Regions from separate parts of the Homo sapiens genome. Here regions 2 and 3 are each linked to region 1. The links are contacts of gene promoters, found by promoter capture Hi-C in blood cells and fetal thymus (Javierre and others, 2016). All regions are on one chromosome and are shown on one strand. The core of a region is centred on a gene start or on the middle of the fragment in contact, and the rest is flanking DNA. Distances in the headings are between cores, read along the strand shown.

Region 1 (4,100 bases), core at 489-2,988:
CTTTTCCTTTTAGTTGTAGGGGAATAAAGCATTCATTTATTTTCCAAGGGTTGGCTGAGTTAAGTCACATGAACATGTGTTCTATTTCAGATGGGTTTGAAACTAGGCTTGATGCCTTAAGGAATAGGGATGTCTAGATTTCTTTTTTCTGTACACTGCTTAAGACTCTGTGGCCAGCTAACTCTCAGGCTCCTTTGCTGCACTCAGATTGCTGGCCTCAGTTACACAGAGGACAGATTTGCCACATTCAAAAATGCTCTCCCTGGAATTGAAATGAGTTTGCAAAAGGTAGGAGTACATTTTATTCTCATTCTTGTGCATCTTATTTACCCTGATGGAAAGCATTACTTCTCTTTATCTTTCAAGGTGACCCAAAAGCATCCAAAACCAGGTTTTCCAGAATTATAGCATGTGTCCTCTAATGAAATGCCAACATTCACTCTCTTTAAAAGTAAAAATATCAAGATTATATAGTCATTAAAAAGAATAAGTCTGAACTAAGTGTTCTAAGATTTGATGCCTATGATGACTGGAATGGAAAAAGCAAGTCATATGATTCTATTTAAAATACTTACATTTGCCTGTGTGTAAAAGGCAAAGATCTCAATTGAGCACACGGTGGTTAACTGGGGAGTGGGACTATGGTATGTACAGAGGGCGAGGAAGGGGCTTGCACTTGTTCCTTATTTCTGAATTGTTCTGAATTGTCTAGATTATTCACTGAGTGTGTAGTGCTTAAAAATTAATTAGAAGACATCACACACATTCACTGAGAATCCTAATCAATCTTCACTGCATTTAAAGTCTGGAAACGGTTACATTCTCAGTTTGACTGGTTTCATGCAGTGTTCAATTGCTTCACCTGACATTCCTCGGGTATCGGGTTCTGTGCCGGGCACGGAGGCTACTAAGATGAATAACACCTGGTCCATGACAGGATGGCATCTACCCCAGAACACAGGTAAGAGAGACAGTGAATTTGGTAAAAATGGGCACCGTCATCAGTAGGCATACATCAGCTCCCTCATCTGATTCACAATTGGCCTTCTGTAGGCTTCTTCTCTTGGCAATGCAATTGGCAGGCGTCATCCTTTTATACTTAAACTCCAAATTTAGGATTAAGACTCCAGTTAATACTGCCAAGCAGAAGGCGTCCTTGGAGAAAGAGAAGTCTCCTGAACATACCCACTGGGGTACCTAGAATAGATTTTGCAGCGACACACAGATCCTGTGTTGTCTGGAGTCTCTGCTGAGTAATGTAGATTCTGGGACAGCAAAAGGGGAGCTGGTGACTTTGAACCAAATTTTACCTTTCAACTGAATCCAGGGGAATAATTTGCAACAGAGTGGCAGACGATACAAAGTGCTATGTTGAACACTAGATTGTGCTTTATTTTTTCCGCCCAACTTCACGTTTCCATGCACCAAAATGTTGATGCTATAAATATTGGATGCCACGCTTACCTGACAGGCTTCTTCCATCCCACCTGGGCGCGGGGGCTCAGAGCGAGCGCGCGAGCCGCGGCTGGAGCCCGCCTCTCGCGGCTGGAGAGGACTCAGCCGGCCGCGGGTTCTGCTGCTTGCCCGGGTGCCCTAGCCGCTTCCCAGCCAGGGCTCCCGCAGTCAGCCCCGCGCGCGCACGCGCGCTCCCCTCGGGCGGCCTCGACGCCTCAGGGCTTCGGCAGGGCTGCGACTGGCCGGCTCCAGCGGGCGGGGCGGCGAGCGAGTGCTCGCGGCCACGTGACCGACGCCAACATGGCGGCGCCCAGTGGCGTCCACCTGCTCGTCCGCAGAGGTAAGCGCGTGGAGGAGAGCCCCGTGAGGGTTCGCACGGTTGCTCACTAGGTACGCACCCGGGTCCAAAGGGATGCGCACCCGCGCTCAGACTTCTCGGCGCACACGACTGTACTTTCAGTGTTTACGAACACACGCAGGCACACACGATGACACATTCACACACCACAGGATCACACATACAAATTTGTTCACTGATCACCCGCCTAGAACACGTCACCACGTGGCATCTTTTCGCAATTACTCCTTGAGATTTGCGGGCCATTGTCTGAAGTTTTTTTCCCCAACTTCGGTTGTATCATTAGTGTAACCAACATTTATTCTGTATGCCGAGCAAGGAAACCTATGGTAATTCTGAAATGCATCTGGACACCCGGTTCCCTTCCCTAGAGCTTTTATGCAGGCATGCTTTTTGGGGACTTGCAAAATGTGATGGTTTTCTTCCAGTGACTTAAAGTTAAGAAGATAAGAAAGGATGTCTGGGTAGTTCTAAGTAGGTTTTATCCTGCGTGAGTGTTGAGATTTTAGTAAATATACAAATGCCTTTGCAGCAGAATTGGGGAAATCTTTGTTGGATTTGAACTAGGTGCTGAATCTTTGTTGGAAAGAACTAGAAAGTTTTTCCAAGGACGGGGGAAGAGGAAAACTATCATATTTTGAGGAGCTACTTAAGCGTCAGGCATGTAGGAACAGTTTTGTGAGGTAAATATTATTTTCATAGTAACAGCTACTGTTTATTAAGTGCCTTTTAAGTACACGATACTGTGTTAAGCGCCTTACATATGCTTGCTTCCTTTTAAAACTCAATGAATGAGACCCCGTCTCTACAAAAAATTTTAAAAATTAGTCGGGCGTGGTGACACATGCCTGTAGTCTCAGCTATTCTGGGGGTTGAGGTGGTAGGATCGCTTGAGCCTGGGAGGTCAAGAGGCTGCAGTGAGCCGTGATCGTACCACTGAACTCCAGACTTGGCAATAGAGCCAGACCCTGTCTCAAAAACAAAAACAAAAACCCAGTGAGTTAGGAATTATTTTCTCTTTGCAGAAGGGAAAAGTAAGGCTAGAGAGGTTAAGTAACATTACTAAGGTCGCATAAATGGTAAGAGGCAGATTGCTCATTTGAACATGACTCTAATTTTTTTTTTTAAGACTCATTTCTCGGTACTGCATGACGTGGTCACTCCATAGAAGTCAGTGTGTAAAGTTCAGCAGAGACAGTGCAGGATGAGTGTGTACAAAAAGTGAAGAGAGCCTGGGCACGGTGGCTCACACCTGTAAACCCAGCACTTTGGGAGGCCGAGGCAGGTGGCTCACTTGAGGTCAGAAGTTCAAGACCAGCCTGGCCAACATGGTGAAACCCCGTCTCTACTAATATACACAATTAGCTGGGCGTGGTGGCGCATGCCTGTAATCCCAGCTACTCGGGAGACTGAGGTAGGAAAATTGCTTTAACCCAGGAGGTGGAGGTTGCAGTGAGCTGAGATCATACCACTACACTCTAGCCTGGGCGACAGAGCGAGACTCCGTCTCAGAAAAAAAAAATAAATAAAAATAATAAAAAATAAGAAGTGAAGAGGAAGATATTTTTAGAGAGGAAGAAGGTTGGTAATCGAATAGACTTCAGTATTTCAGTGTTAGTGGAGATGAGAAAGGGGCCACAGGAAGATTTGAGGGGAGAGATGTGTATGGGGAAGGTGATGTAGCGAGCATTTTGGACTGGTTGCATGAAGGAATGGACATCAGCATGAGAGTGTAGCCTTGTGAAAAGACAGCCAATTTACATCTCTCAAGATCTGGGTGCCAGGCCTGGCAAGGTGGCTAATGCCTGTAATATTACCCAGCACTTTGGGAGGCCAAGGCGGGCAGATCACTTGAGGCCAGGAGTTCAAGACCAGCCTGGCCAACATGGTGAAACCTGTCTCTACTAAAAATACAAAAATTAGCCAGGTGTGGTGGCACATGCTGGTAATCCCAGCTACTTGGGAGGTGGAGGTGGGAGGGATCGCCTGAACCCAGGAGGCGGAGGTTGTAGTGAGCTGAAAAAAAAAAAAAAAAGATCTGGGTTCCAGTCCAAACTTTCTTTACTAATTACTTTTCTGTTTCCTCTTTTCACAAGAAATCATGGCTTTTAGACTTCATTTTTGTATGCTTCAGGTAATGGTGAGAAGGATCTGAGGAGATAGTCAATGTAGAGGAGGAGCCAAAAAAAAAACAACCTGAAAACATACATAGGTGTATGTATGTATATATATATACACCTATGCATGTATAAACGTATTTTTATATGTGTGTATATATGTATTAGGT
Region 2 (4,100 bases), core at 404-2,903, 120 kb before region 1:
ATAAGGACCTTTAACATAGCAGGGTGCAGAAAGTATTAAAAGATCTAAGAAACAGATCAACCAAATGCAATGTATGAATCTAGCTTGGATCCTGCTTTTTAACAAAGCTACTTAAAAATATATGAAACAATCAGAGAACTTCGACACTCAAAAGAAATTGATGATAAGACTTTTTTTAGGTGTGATAATGGTGTTATGATTTGGTTAGTTTTTCAGAGTGTTTATCTTTAGGAGCTACATACTGAACTATTTATGGATACTGCAAGATGATGTCTGAGAACTGCTTCAAAATAAGCCACTGTGGCTGTAATACAGATGAAGCAAGGTTAGCCATGATAATTGGTGACACTGGAATGACAGATATATGGTGATTCATTATACCATTTTCTCTTTTTTTGTATGAATTTTAAAGTTTATTAATTCAGTTAGAATTACAACAAACTTTTTAAAAAATAATTTCAAATCATATTTTATTTTTTTGAGATGGAGTCTCCCTCTGTCACCCAGGCTGGAGTGCAGTGGCGTGACCTTGGCTCACTGCAACCTCCACCTCCCAGGTTCAAGTGATTCTCCTGCCTCAGTCTCCCTAGTAGCTGGGATTACAGGCATGCACCACCACGCTAATTTTTGTATTTTTAGTAGAGGCGGGGTTTTACCATGTTGGCCAGGCTGGCCTCGAACTCCTGACCTCAAGTGAGCCACCCACCTCAGCCTTCGAAAGTGCTGGGATTACAGGCATGAGCCTCAATTCATATTTTAGATTAAGAGGGTACATGTGTGGGTTTGTTACAAGGGAATACTGTGTGATGCTGAGGTTTGGGGTACAAATGATCCCATCAGCCAGAGAGTTTGCATAGTTCCCAATAGTTTTTCCACCCTGTTCCCCTCCTTCCTTTCTCCCTCTAGTCATCCATGGTATCCATCATTATTCTATTTTCTCTAGATTTGTATATGTTTGAAATTTTTCATAACAAAGTTATTTAAAGGGCTACAGAAAAATAATGAAACAATTCTTTACACACTAACATACCTGTATCTCCAAATAATATTAAGTAAAAAAGGCGAATTGTATTAAAATATATAAAGCAAAGCTCCTCCGTTTACTGTATATCCTTGAACAAGCTACTTAACCTTTCTGGGGCTTAGTTTCCTCATCTGTAAAATGGGAATACTAATCGTTCCTACCTTATAGAGTTGTTCTGAGGATTAAATATGATGATTTATATAAAATACTTAAAATAGTGCCTGATACATAACAGTGACACAGTAAGCATTAGCTATTATTATTTATGTTTTTTAAAACCACAAAACCCCATATTTTCTTTTTTTGTTGTTGTTGTTGTTGTTGTTGAGACGGAGTCTCACTCAGCCACCCAGGCTGGAGTGGAGTGGTGTGATCTCAGCTCACTGCAACCACCATCTCCCAGGTTCAAGCGATTCTCCCATCTCAGCCTCCCGAGCAGTTGAGATTACAGGCATCCGCCATCATGCCTGGCTAATTTTTGTATTTTAGTAGAGATGGGGTTTCACCATGTGGGCCAGGCTGGTCTTGAACTCCTAACCTCAGGTGATCCAGCCGCCTCGGCCTCCCAAAGTGCTAGGATTACAGGCCATCGCGCCCGGCCAAAACCCCATATTTTCTGTGTAAATGTATGGGGAAAGATCAGAAAGAAACACGACCAAGAACAGTGGTTACCTCTTAGGTGGCAGGGAATTATTGGCTTTTGGGGTAGAGCTCAGGAAGGACTTCAAGCCTTCAGAAGTATTGGCTTTTGGGGTAGAGCTCAGGAAGGACTTCAAGCCTTCAGCTTTATACAGAATGTTCTATTTTTTTAAAAAAGTATTAATGTAGGGATGTGTAATTTAAGCAGCTCTAGGCTATGAGTCCTTTAAAAACAGGGATACCTTATTCATCCTCATACCTCTAGCACCTTGCACAGTACCTGGCTCTTTGTAGGACAATCAATAGCAATCTGTGTTGAACAGATCTGCTGAAAATAATGAGCCATGGGATGGGAGGGGTAGGGTAAGGACAGAAAAGAAGATGGGGAGAGGAAGACCACCATAAGAAAAAGACTAGAAAGAAGACTGAGAGAAAAAATTTTTCTGAAGAAAAAATGAGGTGAGGATACATTTCTTCTTCAGGGGTCCTAATTTTGGTTATTTTTTGTCATTTCACTTAAGGTATTTTTGCAGATAGTATGACAGCTGCACTGGAATGTTCTAGAAAGCTACCAAATACAGCAGTGTTGACTTGGAGGCACAGAATCTCTTGCCATCTCTGTCTCCCAGCCTCCCTGAGTCACCCCTAGGCTTCCAGGTTTTCCAATCCCTTATATGCTATACATAAACAGTTCTTGGTTTTAATGTGCCTAGCTTTCCTTCCCCCCTTCTGGTAACTGCATGCTAATTTTTCTTGAACATACACACCTCCCTCACCCTCAATTTACACAGGTCATTCAAATGGGGCTGACTCAACTGAACAGTTCCAGAGGTGAGCATGTGAACCAGATCTGGCCAATGAGAACACTGCCTCCTTCTAGTACATGGGTTTTCTTGGGGTATTAGGGAGGACAATAATTCCTAGACTTAACCTAGAAATTGGAGAAACAGTACCTTTTCTCTGCTGAATGGGTAGGATTTTAATCTGGGGATGCTCCACATGGCAAAGCCTGTTTGAGAATGAAGCTAGCACAACAGAAACCAAAACTAAGAGATGAAAGGTGCATGATCCCTGGTGACAGCAGTTAAGCTCCTGATCCACTCATGGCTAGAGCCAGTACATTCTAAGCCTACGCATGTTTAACCAAAATTCCTGTCACTGAAGACTGAAATAGTACTGACTAATATTTTCAAAATGTGTGTTTCTTCCAGTTCTAGAAACCCAACGCTGGCCATAGCAATGGTTTCAGTGGAAGATGCTTTCAGAAATTTCCACAGTACTAAGTAAGAGAAATCTGCACAGAACAGGGAGGTGGTGATTTTAAAAAAGAAAGTTACGCACAAAAAAAAAATATGTATTTTTTCAAGTCTGTGTCTTGGGATTTCAGAGCCTATGGCTGGACCGTTATTCTTTTACACGTCCAGACTGAGCGAATGAAGTTTCAGAAGAAAACTCTGCAAACATCTTCCATGGTCTCTCGGGTCTCCCAGCCTTAGACTGTGACTATACAACATCTTAGAACCTCATAGACTTGAGAGAAATCGGTATTTGTCAATAACTTCAGATGGATGTCTCAAGAATGTAAGTAATTAACTGATTATATGTACATAATCATAAATACATATTAACATCTTAGTCTCTTGACTAGGTCCAGCATAGTCATCTGGAGAAGACAAGGGACTCAGATCTTATTCAAGAAACAAACAAAACATCCTAATCTCAACTTAGAAGAGAAGGAAAGAGACAAGGAACTAAGCTTTATTTGGTTCTGCATAGTTTACATGTTATTTTATTTAATCTTTAGAACATCCCTATGTGCTAGGTGTCATTATCCCTTCTTAGACAGATGAGAAAACAGGCTCCAAAAGTAAACACCTGAGCTCAAAAGGTTTCAAATGAGGATTCAAACCCAGGTTAGACTACAAATCCCATGTAGGCTCCAGGTACACTCTGCTGCCCTCTGGATGAAAAGGAGTTTCATCCAGCTCAAGATGTTCTAGGAACTCTATAGACAGGAGGACATTAAATTGAAAGAATCGGCCAGGCGTAGTGGCTCACGCCTGTAATCCCAGTACTTTGGGAGGCCATTTACCCCCATACTTAATTACCAATGCTTCAGGCACACTGGCCTTTCTGTTTGTTGAACACATCAAACCCTTTTCTATATCTAAGCTTTGTACGTGTGAGCCCTTTGGAATTCCCTCCACCACTTCACCCTCATTCCCTTTTAGTTCTCAGCTCTTAATATTGCCTCCTAAGGGCCCTTCACTGACCACTCTCTTGAAAAATGATTTAAAAAATGATGGCCCTTCTCATTATTCTGTTTACTTCCTTGGACGTGTCACAATCTGTAGTAAGCTTTTTTTTGTTTGTTTTGTTTTTTGTTTTGTTTTAAGAGACAGGGTCTTACTCTATCACCCAGGCTGGAGTGCAGTAG
Region 3 (4,100 bases), core at 714-3,213, 82 kb before region 1:
GTTTTTTTACATTAAAAGAAAGACAATGGCCTGGTGCGGTGGCTCACACCTGTAATCCCAGCACTTTGGGACAGAGGCGACAGAGTGAGACTCCGTCTCAAAAAAAAAAAAAATAATAATAATAATACTTAAAATAGCATTTTAATGATAGAATGTATAATATCACAGTTATTATTGTATTACCTACCAAAAGTAGACAAATACATAATTAATGCCATTCTAATAAATTAGTTTCCAAAAGTAAAGCAGGCATCACTGGACAGTCATTTTGAAAACAGGTATAAATAATTATAGTGCTTGTTATTTTGGCCAATCTTTGCTTGTAAATAATGACAAAATGCAAAATGGAAAATATTAGTTTTCAACTAATTGTTCCTAGTTTTGATTAAATTGCTTCCCTTAGAGTCTGTGTACCATAATACGTCGAATGTAGAGAAGAGGATAGGGAGTTAGCAACCATGTCTAAAAACCTCCAAAAAGATGGATAAGTTTCTCTTTTTTTTTTTTTTTTGAGACGGAATTTTGCTCTAGTTACCCAGGCTGGAGTGCAATGGCGTGATCTTGGCTCACCGCAACCTCTGCCTCCCGGGTTCAAGTGATTCTCCTGCCTCAGCCTCCCGAGTAGCTGGGATTACAGGCATGCACCACCACACCCGGCTAATTCTGTATTTTTCTTTGAGACGGGATTTCTCCATGTTGGTCAAGCTGGTCTCCAACTCCGGACCTCAGGCGATCTGCCCACCTTGGCCTCCCAAAGTGCTGGGATTATAGGTGTGAGCCACCACGCGCAGCCAGATGGATAAGTTTCTAACTGTGAAAGAAACCAATACATCATCATTGAAAGAGACAAATGGTATTAAAGAATAAAAAAACTCATTAGGCTGGGCGCGGTGGCTCACGCCTATAATCCCAGCACTTTGGGAGGCCAAGGAGGCAGATCACTTGAGGTCAGGAGTTCCAGAACAGCCTGGCCAACATGGTGAAACCCTAAAATTACAAAAATTAGCTGGGTGTGGTGGCGGATGCTCACTGTAGCCCCAGCTACTCGGGAGGCTAAGGCAGGAGAATTGCTTGAACCTAGGAGGTGGAGATTGCAGTGAGCCGAGATCATGCCACTACACTCCAGCCTGGGCAGACTCTGTCTCCAAAACAAAAACAAAAACAAAAAACCTCATTAATCCCCATCTCTAAATTCCCCCTAAAGGCAACTATAGTTAAGTTTGTGAGGTATGCTTTCAGATGTTTTCTGTTTATATCAAAATATATTTTTATATAAATGAAATAACATTATATTTTTTGTAATTTATTTTTTAGCCTATTGTATAGGAGATAGAACATATTAGCCAGCCCCTTGTGCTAGTAGTTTAGGCTATTTTCAACTTGCCAGTGAAAATAATACAGCATTGAACATCTTTGTTTTAGTGTATCTTTGCATTTCTGTGAAATAGTTTTGCAGTACAAATGCTTAAAAGTGGAACTGTTGTTGCCTCAAAGGATACACAAATTGAAAATTTTGTTACATTTGTAAAAATGTGTTAAAATTTCTAAATTGCCCCTCAAAAGTTACTAATTTATACACGTATGGGTAGTACATTAGAGTTGGAAAATAAAGACTGTTGGTAATTTTTGTGTATTTAGGATAGGGGTCCTCTTACAGTAGTTTTCAACATGAGCCGGTCCATTTTTATTTTCTTTCTTTCCTTTTTTTTTTTTTCTTGAGACAGACTCGCTCTGTCGCCCAGGCTGGAGTGCAATGGCGGGATCTCGGCTCACTGCAACCTCCGTCTCCCGGGCTCAAGCAATTCTCCTGCCTCAGCCTCCTGAGTAGCTGGAATTACGGGTGTATGCCACCACACCCGGTTAATTTTTGTATTTTCAGTAGAGATGGAGTTTCACCATGTTGGCCAGGCTGGTCTCGAACTCCTGACTTCATGTGATTTGCCTGCCTCGGCCTCCCAAAGTGCTGGGATCACAGACGTGAGCCACCGCGCCCAGCCTATTTTCTTTCTTGTATCCCATTTGGAAGTCATCTAGCTGGATAATGGTTTCTGGATAATTGCTCTGGGAACTGAGACTCATAACTTTATGCTCATTAGCACTACGAGCTAAAAAAATGAGCTAACTAACTACTGTTATTTGTCTGTGTAAAGGTATGCATTTTGAAATGAAGACACATTACATACATGCATTTTTCTTAAAATTGATTTCCTGCATCAATTTTCTGATGACCATATATATATATATATATTTTGAGACGGAGTCTGTCTCCCAGGCTGGAGTACAGTGGCATGATCTCGGCTCACTGCAAGCTCCGCCTCCTGGGTGCATGCCATTCTCCTGCCTCAGCCTCCCAAGTAGCTGGGACTACAGGCGCCCGCCACCACGCCTGGCTAATTTTTTGTGTTTTTAGTAGAGACGGGGTTTCACCGTGTTAGCCAGGATGCTGTCGATCTCCTAACCTCGTGATCTGCCTGCCTCGGCCTCCCAAAGTGCTGGGATTACAGGCATGAGCCACTGCGCCCGGCCCGATGACCATATTTTTTTGTGCCAAATTTTAATCCATTCTGGAGGTTTCAAAGCAAGATAGTGAAGTTTATCAGTCCATATGAACTTGAGCCTGTACCAACACATGGTTGCCAGTTCATACCTAATAGTGTAATATGGCCCTTTTCTCTGAAGAAAATGCCTTTTCCAAATCTCCCTTACTAGAATAAATGTTATCATAGTAATACCACTTCATACCTGCATAGAGTTTTAGAGTTTACAAAGGTCGTTCACAAATATTATTCCGTTTAGTTTTTACAGCAACCCAGTGTGGTGACTGGGCAGTACTATTATCTCCACTTAATAGATGCAACAAGGTTGAACAAGCATGAAGTAGTAGAACTGGGACTAGTAGGGCAGTAAACTTCCCACAAGATATGTTGTCTCTTCCATATATATATGAGGATAGCATATTCCTTTCATAGAAATTTTATTCCATGATTGTAATAGTTGCTTTCTTAAATTCTCTTTAGAACAAAGTAAAATATAAGTTAAAAAAGGAAAGAAATCCCTACAAAAAAAAAGAGAATTTTTTTCCTTTTGGGTAATTTTCACATTACCTTTCCAAAATAAGTCATTCTTTTATCTTTTAGGTAAACTGTACCAAAACATCTATTCTGTAACATTAAAAAAAAAAAATGTGAGGATGGACATGGTGGCTCACACCTATTATCCTAGCATTCCGGGAGGCCAAGCTGAGAGGATTGCTTGAGGCCAGGAGTTTGGGACCAGCCTGGGCAACATACTGAGACTCCATTTCTACAAAAAACAAAAAAATTAGCTGTGCACAATGGCACACATTTGTAGTCCTGGCTATTTGGGAGGCTGAGAGGCAGGAGGATCTTTTGAGCCCAGCAGTTGGAGGCTGGAGGCTGTAGTGAGCTATGATTGCATCATTGCAATCCAGCCTGGGTGAGAGTGAGACCCTGTCTCAAAAAAAAAAAAAAAAAAAAAAGTGAACATCTAAGACGAGGACAATATAAAACCTCAATTCTGCAAGCAAATCACATTAAATGCTAGTCATACAATATATCAGTAAGTTTCATCATATTTTTTTCCTACAACTAACCATAATATCACAGGACTAATAATCTGTGATATACCACAGTTAAAACGTAATTCTTCTTGATTTCTTACTTATAAAGATCATAATTGCTGGTCAGCAATTGATCCATAGATAAGGTGATTTTGGAAAGAAATGATAAGTCTTGCCATTTTGAAAAGAAAAGTTTTTTTTTTTTTTTGAGATGGAGTCTCGCTCTCTTGAGCAGGCTGGAGTGCAGTGGCACTATCTCAGCTCACTGCAACCTCCGCCTCCTGGGTTCAAGCGATTCTACTGCCTCAGCCTCCCAAGTAGTTGAGATTACAGGCTCATGTCACCACGCCTGGTTAATTTATTGTACTTTTTAGTAGAGACAGGGTTTTACCATGTTGGCCAGGCTGGTCTCAAACTCCTGACCTCAGGTGATCTGCCTGCCTTGGCCTCCCAAGTGCTGGGATTACAGGTGTGAGCCACCGTGCCTAGCCAAAAATGATTATTAAAGAAAAAGATTGTT

What was found. The method cuts DNA at HindIII sites, captures the fragments that hold promoters and counts their contacts. A CHiCAGO score of 5 or more calls a contact.
Region 2: a fragment that was not itself captured here is called in contact with the fragment with the promoter of METAP1D in region 1 in 2 of 17 cell types (neutrophils and monocytes); the score reaches 5.3 in neutrophils.
Region 3: a fragment that was not itself captured here is called in contact with the fragment with the promoter of METAP1D in region 1 in 2 of 17 cell types (monocytes and neutrophils); the score reaches 6.6 in monocytes.

What each region holds. Positions count from the first base shown.
Region 1 is chr2:171,998,215-172,002,314 of GRCh38, forward strand. It overlaps METAP1D (methionyl aminopeptidase type 1D, mitochondrial), which reads left to right and starts at 1,739. Exons shown (of 10, transcript NM_199227.3): 1 at 1,739-1,795. The coding sequence starts at 1,756. It overlaps LOC124905590 (a long non-coding RNA gene), which reads right to left and starts at 1,695. Exons shown (of 3, transcript XR_007087296.1): 1 at 1,465-1,695. RefSeq lists a silencer at 1,434-1,733. The HindIII fragment of the contact is 8,153 bases long and covers 1-4,100 here.
Region 2 is chr2:171,879,821-171,883,920 of GRCh38, forward strand. All of the region lies in intron 2 of SLC25A12 (solute carrier family 25 member 12), which reads right to left. Among named protein-coding and RNA genes, the nearest start is that of SLC25A12, 12 kb to the right of the region's middle. The HindIII fragment of the contact is 3,527 bases long and covers 1-3,417 here.
Region 3 is chr2:171,916,233-171,920,332 of GRCh38, forward strand. It overlaps LOC105373740 (a long non-coding RNA gene), which reads right to left. Exons shown (of 3, transcript XR_923579.2): 3 at 717-811. LOC105373739 (a long non-coding RNA gene) reads right to left here and starts at 569. Exons shown (of 3, transcript XR_923578.1): 1 at 536-569. The HindIII fragment of the contact is 7,608 bases long and covers 1-4,100 here.